3 separate regions of the Homo sapiens genome follow, and all the other regions are linked to region 3. Evidence: promoter capture Hi-C in 16 types of primary human blood cells and fetal thymus (Javierre and others, 2016). All regions are on one chromosome and are shown on one strand. The core of a region is centred on a gene start or on the middle of the fragment in contact, and the rest is flanking DNA. Distances in the headings are between cores, read along the strand shown. Region 1 holds the start of ZNF416 (zinc finger protein 416). Region 2 holds the start of ZNF530 (zinc finger protein 530). Region 3 holds the start of ZNF230 (zinc finger protein 230).

What was found. The method cuts DNA at HindIII sites, captures the fragments that hold promoters and counts their contacts. A CHiCAGO score of 5 or more calls a contact.
Region 1: a contact is called between the fragment with the promoter of ZNF416 here and the fragment with the promoter of ZNF230 in region 3, in 1 of 17 cell types (naive CD4 T cells). The highest score is 7.0, in naive CD4 T cells.
Region 2: the fragment with the promoter of ZNF530 here is called in contact with the fragment with the promoter of ZNF230 in region 3 in 2 of 17 cell types (activated CD4 T cells and non-activated CD4 T cells); the score reaches 7.5 in activated CD4 T cells.

The regions. Positions count from the first base shown.
Region 1 is chr19:57,576,481-57,580,862 of GRCh38, forward strand. ZNF416 (zinc finger protein 416) reads right to left here and starts at 2,431. Exons shown (of 4, transcript NM_017879.3): 1 at 2,192-2,431; 2 at 1,577-1,618. The coding sequence starts at 2,224. RefSeq lists a silencer at 2,121-2,340. The HindIII fragment of the contact is 6,514 bases long and covers 1-2,754 here.
Region 2 is chr19:57,598,407-57,602,505 of GRCh38, forward strand. ZNF530 (zinc finger protein 530) reads left to right here and starts at 1,479. Exons shown (of 4, transcript NM_001321981.2): 1 at 1,479-1,728; 2 at 2,322-2,373. RefSeq lists enhancers at 1,527-1,736, 1,827-1,946. The HindIII fragment of the contact is 5,329 bases long and covers 1-3,362 here.
Region 3 is chr19:44,001,262-44,005,361 of GRCh38, forward strand. ZNF230 (zinc finger protein 230) reads left to right here and starts at 1,696. Exons shown (of 5, transcript NM_006300.4): 1 at 1,696-1,846. It overlaps ZNF230-DT (ZNF230 divergent transcript), which reads right to left and starts at 1,609. Exons shown (of 3, transcript NR_110727.1): 1 at 1,004-1,609. RefSeq lists an enhancer at 1,459-1,968. The HindIII fragment of the contact is 6,099 bases long and covers 1-1,889 here.

The sequences.
Region 1 (4,382 bases), core at 1,181-3,680, about 14 Mb after region 3:
TCAGGCTGAATGGTCCCCACTGCCAAAGGCAGCCCTTCAGAGACCCTGCTCTGAAGGCCTCCCTGCCTGACTCTGTCCCTTTCTACATCCTCAGTCACCCAGAAATACCTGGGGATCTGACACCGATGGCCCTCTTGCACTAGCGCTGCACTTGATGTCCTCTCTTAAGTCACAGCCTTCCTCTCCTGCTAACCCTCATTCAAAGTCTGCCCCAGGGGACCCCCACACCTCAGGCCCAATAACTCCCAGATGACCACCTGTGCCCCTCAACTTATCCACCTCCCTGAAATTCCTGACACCTCAAGGGTTGCCACAAAACCCTGGTAGATATATCCAGAGTGCTGAGTAAGCACTAGTTCTGGTCTCAGTGTCATCTTGTCTCAATTACTTCCAAGCATTGATCTCATGCCCACTCTTCTCCTAGATCCTTGGCCACTTGCCAGATCATCCTTGCTCTCACACCCTACCATAGCCACCTCTCTCCCATACCTGTCTTTGTGATTCCCACCATGACCAACCATGTCCCCAAGCAGGAGAGCCAGTAGTGACCCCCAACCTTCCTTCCCTGGGCTGGTAATAGCATTACCAAAGTGATCACGATTCCACCTCCTAATTGTGTCCCAAGCTATACCCCTAGGCAAGTAGTGGCCACCACCTTTTAAATGTCTCTATCCTGAATCCCTCAACACAGTTCTAGTCCTGTAGGATAAACTATCCACTTCATGTCTAAACTAACTGTTCTTTGAAACATCTCAGACTCTAAAAGATGTCCCATTGGGCCATGTTCAGATGATTTTTATTAAAAAATTTTAAAAATAAAGATGGTCCATATCAAAATTTCTGATTATCTCTAGAGATAACTGACTCTACTACCAACTTTACAATCCTCGCTAGTGGAGCTTCCATATTTCCAGCTGCTAAACCCAAACACCTTGCTTTTACCCCTAAATCCTACTTTTCTATCTCAAAATCCAGGCTTCCCTACTTAAAAAAACTGATCTAAAATCCAACTACCACCTCCACAGCCACCACACAAGTCCAGCCACCAGTAACACTCACCTGGACTACTGCAGCAGCCTTCTTCACTATCTTCCTATCTCATACCTCACACTCAGCCTGTTCTCTCAGCTTGGCCACACACAGGGAACCTGATGAGACCTGGATCAGATCACATACCTCCTCTGCCCCCAAACTGTCATTGCTCATCACACACTCCAGAAGAAACACCCGACAACTGACAGCCATTTTTTGTCTGATTCCTGCATCCCAGCTTTCAGTTCCCATGAGAAAGAAAACAGCTGTAGTTTCCTAAACCAGCTCAGCCTGACCTTCAAGCACTTGCTCATCTGGTATCTAAGCCTGAGACAACGTTCCACACCTTACTTTACTGGTTCCCAGCAATAGGAACCATTCTATACCAGCTTCCAGCCTGGATGTATGACCCTGGGACTGATGTTTGTTCAGGATTCCTAGAACCAAGGACCCAAAGAGTGCCAAGAGAAGAGTCCCAGAACACAATCTCAGAGACAAACACTGGGGTCAGCATCAGTGAGGGCCCGAAACACTCTCCACTCACCTGTGTAAAGCCCATAAGTTTAGCTTCTGCAGTCACGGGAACCTGCGGGAAGAGGAAGGCTATGAGAGGCAGGTAACTATGGTGGAAGCTCCATGGGCTGATGCCTCCTTGTTTCCCTGCGCAGCCCTGGAGCCAGGTGACTTGGTGATGACTAAATTATTATTGCTCCTCAGTTCCGTGTGACTCTTACCTGCTGTGGGACCTTGCACAAGGACTCAACTTCCCTGTGCCTCGGTGTTATCCCCCTTCCAGGCTGTTCCAACTCTGAGTAACTTTAGAAAAAATTTGAAAAGTCTAACTCAGACCATGTGCCTCGTCTGTTCACAACCACCCATGGCTCTCAGCGTCTTGAAAAGAAAGAGCCTCATTTTACCATTCGGGCGTGAACGTTACTGGCTCAATCGTCCCAGCAAGATTCACAGAAACCGGCCCCTCCGCCTGCCACACCCTCCACAGCCCACGACACCAGGCTTGTAAATGGGAGCCCCACCCGCGAGGGCCTCATAGTCCTGGACTCTAGGGTCGGGCTGCAGGGACGCAAGCAGGCGCCCCTCATGCAGGGTGTTGGATTTCCGGCGGAGAGGGCAGGTGAGGCCCGGGAGACGCAGCACTCACCGAAGTCGAATCCCTAAGCACGGCCGCCGCCATCGGATTGTGAGCGGAGCGGGGCCGGGAGCGGCGGGCGACCCGGGGCGGGAACCCAGGCACGGCTGCCACCAGCGCCAGCGACCCACCGGCTGATGCGCAGCGGGGCGACCCCCGCTCTGTGCCGGAGGCAGCGTTTCTAACTCAGGCGGCGTGGGCCGAGGTAGAGAACCACCAAAATTACCATCTCGGAGCGGTGCCGGAAGTCCCGCCTTACCGTATGCAACAAACGGAGACAGGTCCGTTCCTGAACGTTGATTGGCTCCGCGTCTTTGCAGCTTGGCGCTCGGCATTATGGGTAATGTAGTTCTCAGAAGCCCAGGGTTCCGGTGCCCTCCCTGAGATTCACCCGGAACAAGGGCTAAGCGGCCCGCGGAGGGCGCTAGGAAAAGGCGCGACACCAAGAGCGAGACAGGGACTTGCTGCTCCTTAAAGGGGCCGCTGGCCGATTTCCGCAGTCCCATACCCACTGAAGGGAGTGTCTGGGTTAAGATAAGAGGTTGTAGAGACCAAGGTTCTTATTAAGCAGATGAAGCTTTCACGCAGCAGGCTTCAGAGGGAATAGATTGTAAATGTTTCCTATCAGACTTTGAAAGGTGCCAGACTCTTAATTCTTTCCTGGACCATGAAAATAAAAAAACCCTGGAGAGGAAAGGGGATTCTCAGCAAAATGCAGATTCCACAAGACACACCTTTGCAGGGCCTCTTCAAAATATGTCAAATAAATAAAGTTTAGAGTAAAATACTTCAATTCCTTTCAGGGCCTGCTATCTGTCATGTAATGCTATACTACAATCAGGCTGGAATTCACTGTCTTATTGCTACAAGAAGTCTTAAAATCTCTGTTTTAATGTTAATGCTGGTCAGTTGTGCCTGAATTCCAAGGGGAGGAGGGCAAGTCTGACCCTCACTTCCCATCACGTCCTGAACTAGTTTTTCAGATTAACTTTGGAATGCCCTTGGCCAAGAGGAAGGATGCATTCAGATGGTTGGGGGGCTGGGAATTTTATTTTTGGTTTACACTTCTCATGCCTCTTGGAATCTCTGAACCACATACAACGGCCATTTGTTGAGTAAAAGCTTCCAATGCAGGAAACTGTCTCTTTCAGCCTCATGCTATACACCATTAAAACAGTAATTACTGGCAATAAGACTGGGCTTTCTTAAACATACAGGATCTCACAGACCATAAGCCTATGATCCTTCATACCAGCTGCCCATAATACTTTTGGTTTTGGAAGCAGCACCCCATAACCTCAGCATGGCTACCAAGGCCTCCTTAAGACAGGGTAGAATGAATAAGATCTAGTATTTGATAGCACAGTAGAGAGACTACAGTCAACAGTAATTTATTGTACATTAAAAACAACTAAAAGAGTATTATAACTAGAATGTTTGTAACACAAAGAAATGATAAATGCTTGTGTACCCTGATATGATTATTACACATTGTATGCCTGTATCACAATATCTCACGTATCCCATAAATATACATACATACTATGTACTCATAAAACTAAAAATTTTAAAAGACAGATAAATGGCAAGCAGGTAGATGAAAACATGCTTAACATCATTGATCACTATAAAAATGCAAATCAAAACTACAATGAGATATCATCTCACTCTAGTTAAAATGACTTTTATGCAAAAGACAGGGAATAATGAATGCTGGCCAGGACAGAGAGGAAAGGGAAACTTCATACGCTGTTGGTGGGAGTGTAAATTAGTAAAGCCACTATGGGGAACAGTTTGGAGGTTCCCCACAGAAGTAAAAATAGAATTACCATATGATACAGTTTACACCACCCAGAAAAGAAATCAGTATATCTAATAGAGATCTGCACTCCCATGTTTATTGCATCACTATTCACAACAGCCAAGATTTGGAAGCTACCTAACTGTCCATAGATAAATGGATAAAGAAAATGTGATGCATATACACAATGGAGTAGTATTTAGCCATAAAAAAAGAATGAGATCCCATCAATTGCAAGAAGACGGGTGAAATTGGAGGAAATTATGTTAAGTAAAATAAGCCAGGCACAGAAAGACAAACTTCACATGTTCTCACTTATTTGTGGGAGCTAAAAATTTAAACAATTGAACTCCCGGAGATTAAGCTTAGAAGGATGGCTACCAGAGGCTGAGAAGGATAGCA
Region 2 (4,099 bases), core at 229-2,728, about 14 Mb after region 3:
ACAAGATTATTAATAGTTGTGACGTATAATGTTTTGTGTCGACTTGCCTGCATTAAGGGCTACCCAAATAGTTGGGAAAACCTTAGTACAGGATATGTCTGTGAGAATGTTTATGGAAGATATTAGCAGTTGAGTCTGTAGACAATGTAAAGGAGATCTGGCCTCATCAGTGTTAGGGGCCAACATCCAATGCTTTGAGAGCCAAGATAGAACAAAAAGGCAGAGAAAGAGCAAGTTACTCTCTTCTTGCCCTGGATCATCCACCTTCTGTTTTCCAACATTAAAGTTCTTGGATCTTGGGCCTTTGGACTCTGGAACATACAAGAATGACCCTCACCCAGTTCTCAGGCCTTCAGCCTCCAACTGGGAATTTCACCATAGGCTCCCTTGGTTTTCAGGCCTTCAGATGCAGACTGAATGATACCACCCACCTTCGTGTCTTACCAGGTTGCAAAAGGTATATCCTGGGACTTCTTAGCCTCCATAACTGGATGAGCCAAGTCCCATAATAAATCCCCTCTTGTACATCTATGTATCCTATTGGTTCTGTGTTTCTCTGGAGAATCCTGACTAATACAATAGGTTTCAGTAATTTTCATTTCACAACTGTTTTTCTAAGATGATCTCAACTCCCCATGCAAGCACTGTCCCTGCAGTAACAGTATCAATGATCAAAATTTCCCATCAAAGAGATGAAAGCTAGGTGTCCCAAACCTTTATTCTGGTATTCTGATGTCCCCTTTGCACAAGTGCTCTGACTGTGAACACTACAGACACTGTTCTACTTTAAAATGGCATATGCTAAGTGGCTCTTCTGTTTAGAAAGTTGCTACAATCCTAAAAGAAGCATATCTAAGAATATGGAGGAAGAAATATTATATGAATACAACACTGTTCCTTACAGGGCTAGACACACTCACCGATTACACAGGCAGGAGAGGCATTTTCTGTGAGACAAAATTCCTCTTTCGTCCTCCAGCTTCGGTGCGATCTAACGGATGTTTTATCATTCCTGTCATGGCGCTATGTAAACTCTATTTCCCTTATTCCTTACTGAGCATAATGAAACTCACAAAGCTGACTCTAACGTTCTACTTTACATAAATGTGTGGAGAAAGAAGGTAATGTTTACTAGGCTCTCGCCAAGGGTAGAGGCATTTTGTATCTGAATAACTCTGACTACCTAGGTGACTAGTTGTACACAATACCCTCCAAAAATCTCTGTATGGTACCTTAAAAAAGCAGCGAAGCTCCTCCCTTGTCCAAGGAGGCTGGAGACACCACCTCTCAGCCTTCCCCTCCACCTTTCTCCATAGCAACGGGGTCATTCCTCCCTGAGGTCCAGGAGAAGGGCGACCTCTGCCAGCCCAAGAAGCGGTGAGAACTACATTACCCAGAGGCCCGTGAGCCAGGTTCTTGGCGTGGAGCCAATGAGGCTCAGGGGAGGGACATTTCCGCTCTGTCCAACTTGTCGGAGCGGAACTTCCGGCGTCCTCCCTGTGGCGGGCACTTTGGCTTGTGTCAGTTCCATCCGCGGGTGCCGGATCTGGACCTAGGTGCTGACAGCGAGAAGGCGCGAGGAGAGTCGTTTTCTCAGCTGCACAGCCGGGGCCTGACGGTCGCCGGCGGTGGTGACAGCTTTGCTCTTGTCTCCGCCCGGATCGTCCACCGCTCCCGGCCCGCTCCGCCCAGAGTCCGATGGCGGCGGCACTGAGGGCCCCGACCCAGGTGAGCGCTGCGTCCTCCCGGCCTCCTCTGCCCTCCCCACCCGAAACTGAGGGACGCGTGAAGGGTTTTCTGCAGCCCGGACCGCACTGTCCGGCACAGTGAGGCGCTGGTGCTGGATCTCGTTTCTGGTAGTGTGGCAGGGAGCGGGAGAGCGACACGGTCAGGGGGCTGCGCGGGCAACAGCTTGGAGCTGCGCCTGAGCCGGGAGGCTGGGGAGACCCAGGCCGGCCTCACGCGTGCAGGTAGCAGAGGGTGGGGCAGCGCCGCGCTGCATTGGCCCCACTGAGTTTCACCAGCACACTGAGGGCCACAGCGCGTAGGACAGAAGAGGGGCACGGCCCCAGTCACGCTTCTAAAAGTTTCACAAAAGCTGTTCAGAGGAACGCGCTGGAAGGGCAGTGATGATAGCAGGCATGGAGGGACCTAGTCTTTTTACGAGGTCACAAAGCTGGTAAAAGTCAGCACCAAGGACTGACACCCAGATACAAAGCAGTCATCCCTGGACACCTGGCTCTGGTGTTCCACATTGGAACCAGAAGTCCATGGAGCCACACTTTGGTCACCTGCCTCTCAGAACATGTTTCCTCCCACAGATTGCCACTAGTACTTACAGGTCCGTAAGAAGCACTTGAAGACCCTACAAGGGTAAGTGGAGGAAATCCAGAAGCTCATTGATTCCAGCAATGGGATCTCTAGGATTGGGACTGTGGTGACCTGGGATTCTTTACTTACCGCTTTTCCAGGCCTTGAGCCTAGGGACTCTGAACAAAAATATGTCCAGGGTGAGTATTATATGAGGTGGTGCCTGTTGCTGGCAAATAATAGGATGAATGTGGAAGTTTGTCCCAGAGATAAGTACAGGTGTTTGGAGCTGCTTGGAGGTGAGGCTGAGCTGGTTAAGAGAACCTCAAGTCTCATTTCCTTCTCATGGGAACAGAGAGCAGAGGTACAGGAGTTAGAAACTAAATGGCTGTCTCAGATGTCTTTGTTCTGGAGATGATGGCAGCAATGAAGATTTGGAGCAGAAGAGGGAGGTGATCTTCCCCAGGCCTCATGAGGCTCCTGTGGCTGAGCACAGACAACAGACTGTGGGTTTAAGGGAGTTGGTAGCAATACCAAAGAGGAAAGAGGAGACTACTGCAATAGTCCAGGTGAGTGTAGATGATGTGGGCCAGAGTAGTGGCCACAGTGTGGCAGAAATGGTTGAATTTTGGATTGTAGGTCGGCTCTGATTTTCTGGTATTGGGACTGAGAGATAAGAAGGGGTGACTCAAGGCTTTTTGAGTTTAGTAGCTGGAAGCATAGAAGCTCCATCTACTGGGAGAGCCAAGTAGATAGTAGAATTGTTTTTCACTCAGGACATCAGGAATGTGTTTTGTCCATGTTAAAAATATGAGATGTTTTAGAGAATAAGTAAGTAGCTATATCAAGTGGCTAGGTGGACACACAGGTCTTGGACTCTGAGGAAGGGTGCAGGATAGAGACTTCTACAAAGAGTGGAGGATATTATTGAACTAGGATGGAGCCCTATGTCTGTTAGGCCATTTGCATTACTATAAAGAAATACCTAAGGCTGGGTAGTTTATAAAGAAACAAGGTTTATTACAGCTTATAGTTCTGCAGGCTGTACAGGAAGCTTAGCGCTAGTCTCCACTTCTGGTGAGGGCCTCAGGAAGCTTCCAATCATTGCAGAAGGCAAAAAGGGAGCCAGCAAGGCAGGAGGGAGGCACCAGTCTCTTTTTAGCAACCAGGTCTCATGTGAACTTATTACTGTTGGAAGGATACTATGCCATTCATGAGGGATCCACCTCCATGACCCAGATAACCTCCCACTAGGCCCCACTTCCAACATTGGGGATCACATTTCCAGGTGAGATTTGAAGGGGACAAATATCCAGGCTATATCAGTGTCTTACCTTGGGTTGATAATGAAATAACCTATATTGGTGGCTTAAACAACAAAAATTTGTTTCTCACAGTTCTGCAGGCTAGGAAATTCTACATCAGGGTGCCTCTAGATTCACTTATTTGTGATGGGCTGCTTCTTGACTTGCAGTGGCTGCCCTCTTGCTTTTTCCTCACATGGCCTTTCCTGGGAGGGAGTATGTAAAGAAAGCAAGGAATCTCTTTCTTTCTATTCTTACAAAAGCATTAATTCCATCATGAGGGCCCCACTCTTTTGACCTTATCTAAATCTAATTACCACCCAAAGATTCCATCTCCAAATACTATCACATTATATTAGGCTTCATTGTGTTAGTGCTTCAATGTAAGCATTTTGTGGGTGGGCGTGGGGCAGAAACATTAAGCCCATAACATCATAGATCCCATTTAGTAGTGGGATTCCTGGTCATGATGATAATATTAATAG
Region 3 (4,100 bases), core at 446-2,945:
CCAACACAGACCCAGAGTGCACGGACCTGGGAAGCAGAAGGGACCTTTGATGCCAAGTGCCCCTAACCTTTTAGGCTCAGTTCCCTGCATGCTACGATTGAGTGTGTCAATACATCTTATCTTTCGGGAAGGCAGAGTAGATCAAGGATACAGCTATAACTGGCATATGAATAGTGATCACTCAATTTTCAGAGAGCGGATGTTTGGCATCAAAAGTTTGGCACAGTCACCTTATTTTTGTGTCTAAACAAAATTTTGAAAAGTTTTTAGTTTAGAAAAATAGGTAAACAGTAGACTCCATTTTTTTTAAAAAGAAGAATATTGGTTTATAGGCCAATGTATGTTTATAGGGAGAAAAAAAGTTACCTTCAAAAGAGCAGGTTTTTAGATGAATTGTTTCCTAATTTAGCTTTATACTGTTATTATTTTTTAACCAATGCCAGTTTTTAAATTGCTAACTATAATAAAGAAATTATGTTTCACCAAGAAATAAGAAGAAACTTAAAAAAAAAAATCTTTAATTATTGAGGTATCTGTTGCCTAGGCTGGAGGGCAGTGGTGGCATCATAGCTCACTGCAGCCTCAATCAAACTCCTGGGCTTCAGCAATCCTCCCACCTCAGCCTCCTGAGTACTTGGAACTTGTAGTCCCAAGATCAGGCCACCATGCCTGGCCAGTTAAAAAAAAATTTTTATAGAGACGAAGTCTCCCTGTATTTCCCTGTCTGGTCTCCAATTCCTGAGCTCAAGGGAACGTCCTGCCCTGGCCTCCCAAAGGGTTGGCATTACAGGTTTGAGCCACTGCGCTTGGCCAGGAAGAAAACTCTTTATAAGACATGCTCCTTCACCTATAGAATCCTCCCGTTTTACTGCATTTACAATCTCAATGTAAGATTGATACCAATGCCTAGCTCTTCATCAGTCATTATTGCTCTGAGGTACTGAGCAATTCACTACATTCGCTGAAATTTGATGTTTCTACATCTAAGGAGAAATATGAATACCATGAAAAGTTTATGGGAAGATAGCTATTCCATGACGACACCGCTTCTCCACTAGTAGCTGTGATCTTAAATGGGGGTGGCTTTTCCTGCCAAACCAGTGGTCCCACAGCTTCTGGAGTAGGGGCTGGTGTCTTCCTGCTCCTCATTGCCCCTGCCAAACCATTCCACCTGGCTCATCCTTTAAACCGTTAGTTTTAACCTCCCATCGTCAGATTATCCTAATCCTTGAAGATTTTATCTCCTCGTTTGTTCTCTTCCCAATAACACTCCTGTCATCGTGGGAGGCGTTTAGACTTCAGGAATTCCTGTCTATACACTATTTTCGCTCAAAGACTCAGGAAGAGAGACGGACGACTCACAGGGTCACAGTCCACATTCCCCACCAGGCGCTCAGAGATATGGAATACGTTCCCGGTGGGCACTGCGGTGTGTGTAGTCAAGGACCACCGCGGAGTCCAACGCTTCCCGCTGAAGAGTGAGATTATAGACATTTTCCTTTGGCATTGGAGGAAGCGGAGTCCAGACACACTCTGAGTCGCGGGCAAGTTGGCTCAGGCGGGTGGACGAGTGAATTCTGGGAACTGTAGTCCATCAACTTCATGGAATGGCGGACCCTTTGGCTCAAGCAGTTGAACCGGGGAATTCTGGGAAGTGGAGTCCAGACGCTCTGTGGAGACGCGAGCACTTCCGGTGTGTGAGCCTGCGGTTGCTACATAACCGCGTAGTTTGAGCCATTTCTGCGTCTGGCGGGTCCTTCTGAACTTGTCACCTTCGCTTGGGGTCGCAACGACCCGATGATCGATGATCCAAGCAAGGGAAAAGAAGCCTTGGCGGAGAGCGGAGGTTTGGTGGGGGCGGGGAATGGGGTTTTTTTCCCGTCCACGGAAGCTTTCTGGGATGGGGGTGCTGTGCTCGCATCCCGGGGGTTGGAATTGGCGGGGTCCTCTGTGCCCTGCTGTGAGCGTTTCCAGGACTTTGACCTCGCTCAGCCTGCCTCTCTCCACCCTACCTGTGCGACCGCTTTCTCGCAGTGTGACGTGGAGTGTTACTCAATGTCCTTATACTTTCCATTGCTGTTTTTGGTAATGGGGACATTAGAACCATCCTAGTAGAATCGTTTTTGGGAACTGAAAGAGATAACGCAAATGAGAACCTTAAAGCAGTCCCTGTCACTTGGTGACTGGTGGTCTCTTGTTAACTTCCCGAAGAGGTCAGGTCCCCGGGTGGAGTCATAGCTTCAGCTGCAGGGGCCCTGGTCCTTCTCCCTAATCCCTGCAGGACGCTGGATGATCCCGGGAGGCCTTCTGACCTCTTTTTAGGAAAGCGAGTTGCGTCCGCTTCCACGAAGGGCGGGGAGCATTTAACTTTTATGGGGGACCGCGATGCAGTCAGGGTATTTCACAACTTTCGCCTTCCCCAGCCTGACCTTTCTAAAAGAGCTGCAGGGAGGGGACTTCTTGGCTACTGAGGGCAAATCTCTATGTGATTGGTCCTTGGCTTTTTTCCTTTATAGAGATGTTCACCCAACCGAGAGTGTGTCCTCGGGAATGGGTGTTGATAATCATTAAGCCGTAATTGGTAACTTCATTCTAAGTGCTTTATACAAATAAATTTAGGCCACACTGTGGCTCTGTGAAGTATTGCTTTTCTTTGTTTTAAAAATGAGAGTGAGACACAGGGTGCATAGCAGCCAACTAGTGAGAGGTAGAGCTGGGGTTGGCACCTAGGCAGTCCAGGTCAGAGCCTGAGTTGATCACCTCTTGGATACATTCTCATTGAGGCAGAGGAACTAGCTGGACTCGTAGGGAAAGCAAGTTAGGACCTGATTGAAAGGACGTTGAGAGCAAGGCTCGTGGGCTTGGACGTCTAGGAATTTTTAAAAATTTCTCAACTATTTTGTTTCATGTTTTCCAAGTATTTCGTACTGTTGTGGAACTGTATCATTGTGGAAAAGTCTGAAATAGGAGAAATGAGAGTAGAAAAAGTTTTTTAATTACCCATGTATCCAAGATGTAAAGGTAGTAACTGTTAAGCTTCTAATTGATTTCTTTTGTCTTTCTTTGTGTCTACTTCTATATTTGTTGATAAACATTTTTTTAAAAATTGTTATATTTTAATGTGTTTTCCCATATGTCTTTTAACTATAGAAAATTTTAAATATTGCTAATAGAGACTAAACTAGTGAGGCTGGTTGTGGTGGCTCATGCCTATAATCCCAGCACTTTGGGAGGCCAAGGCAGGTGGATCACTTGAGGTCAGTAGTTTGAGACCAGCCTGGCCAACATGGTGAAACCCCATCTCTACCAAAAATACAAATATTAGCCGGGCGTGATGGCACGTGCCTGTAGTCCCAGCTACTCTAGAGGCTGAGGCAGGAGAATTGCTTAAACCCGGGAGGTGGAGGTTGCAGTGAGCCAAGATCACGCCACTGCACTCCAGCCTGGGCAACAGAGTGAGACTCAAAAAAAAAAAAAAAAAAAAGAATAAACTAGTGAACTGCCATATTATATAATGCTCAATTTTATTATTCCCATTATCCTTATGACTATTTCCTGATATCTAAAATATTTTTGCTGGGCGCGGTGGCTCACGCCTGTAATCCCAGCACTTTGGGAGGCCGAGGCGGGTGGATCACGAGGTCAGGAGATCGAGACCATCCTGGCCAACATGGTGAAACCCCATCTCTACTAAAAAAAAAAATACAAAAAATTAGCTGGGCATGGTGGCAGGCAGTTGTGGTCCCAGCTACTCCAGAGGCTGAGGCAGGAGAAAGGCGTGAGCCCGGGAGGCGGAGCTTGCAGTGAGCGAGATCGCGCCACTGCACTCCAGCCTGGGCTAGGGAGCGAGACTCTGTCTCAAAAAAAAAAAAATTAAAAACTAAAAACAAAATAAAATATTTTCATCTTTATATCATTTAAAAGCTATAGAAAAGTTGCAAAAATAGTATAAGGAGTTCTCATACTCTATCCAAATTTGCCAATTGTTTACATTTTTCCTGGTTGCTTTGTTGATGACCATCAGCCAAATACCACCAGGAACATAACTAACCAGAGACAGCTGATTATGGCTTTCTGCAGCAAGGAAGCCCACATACCAT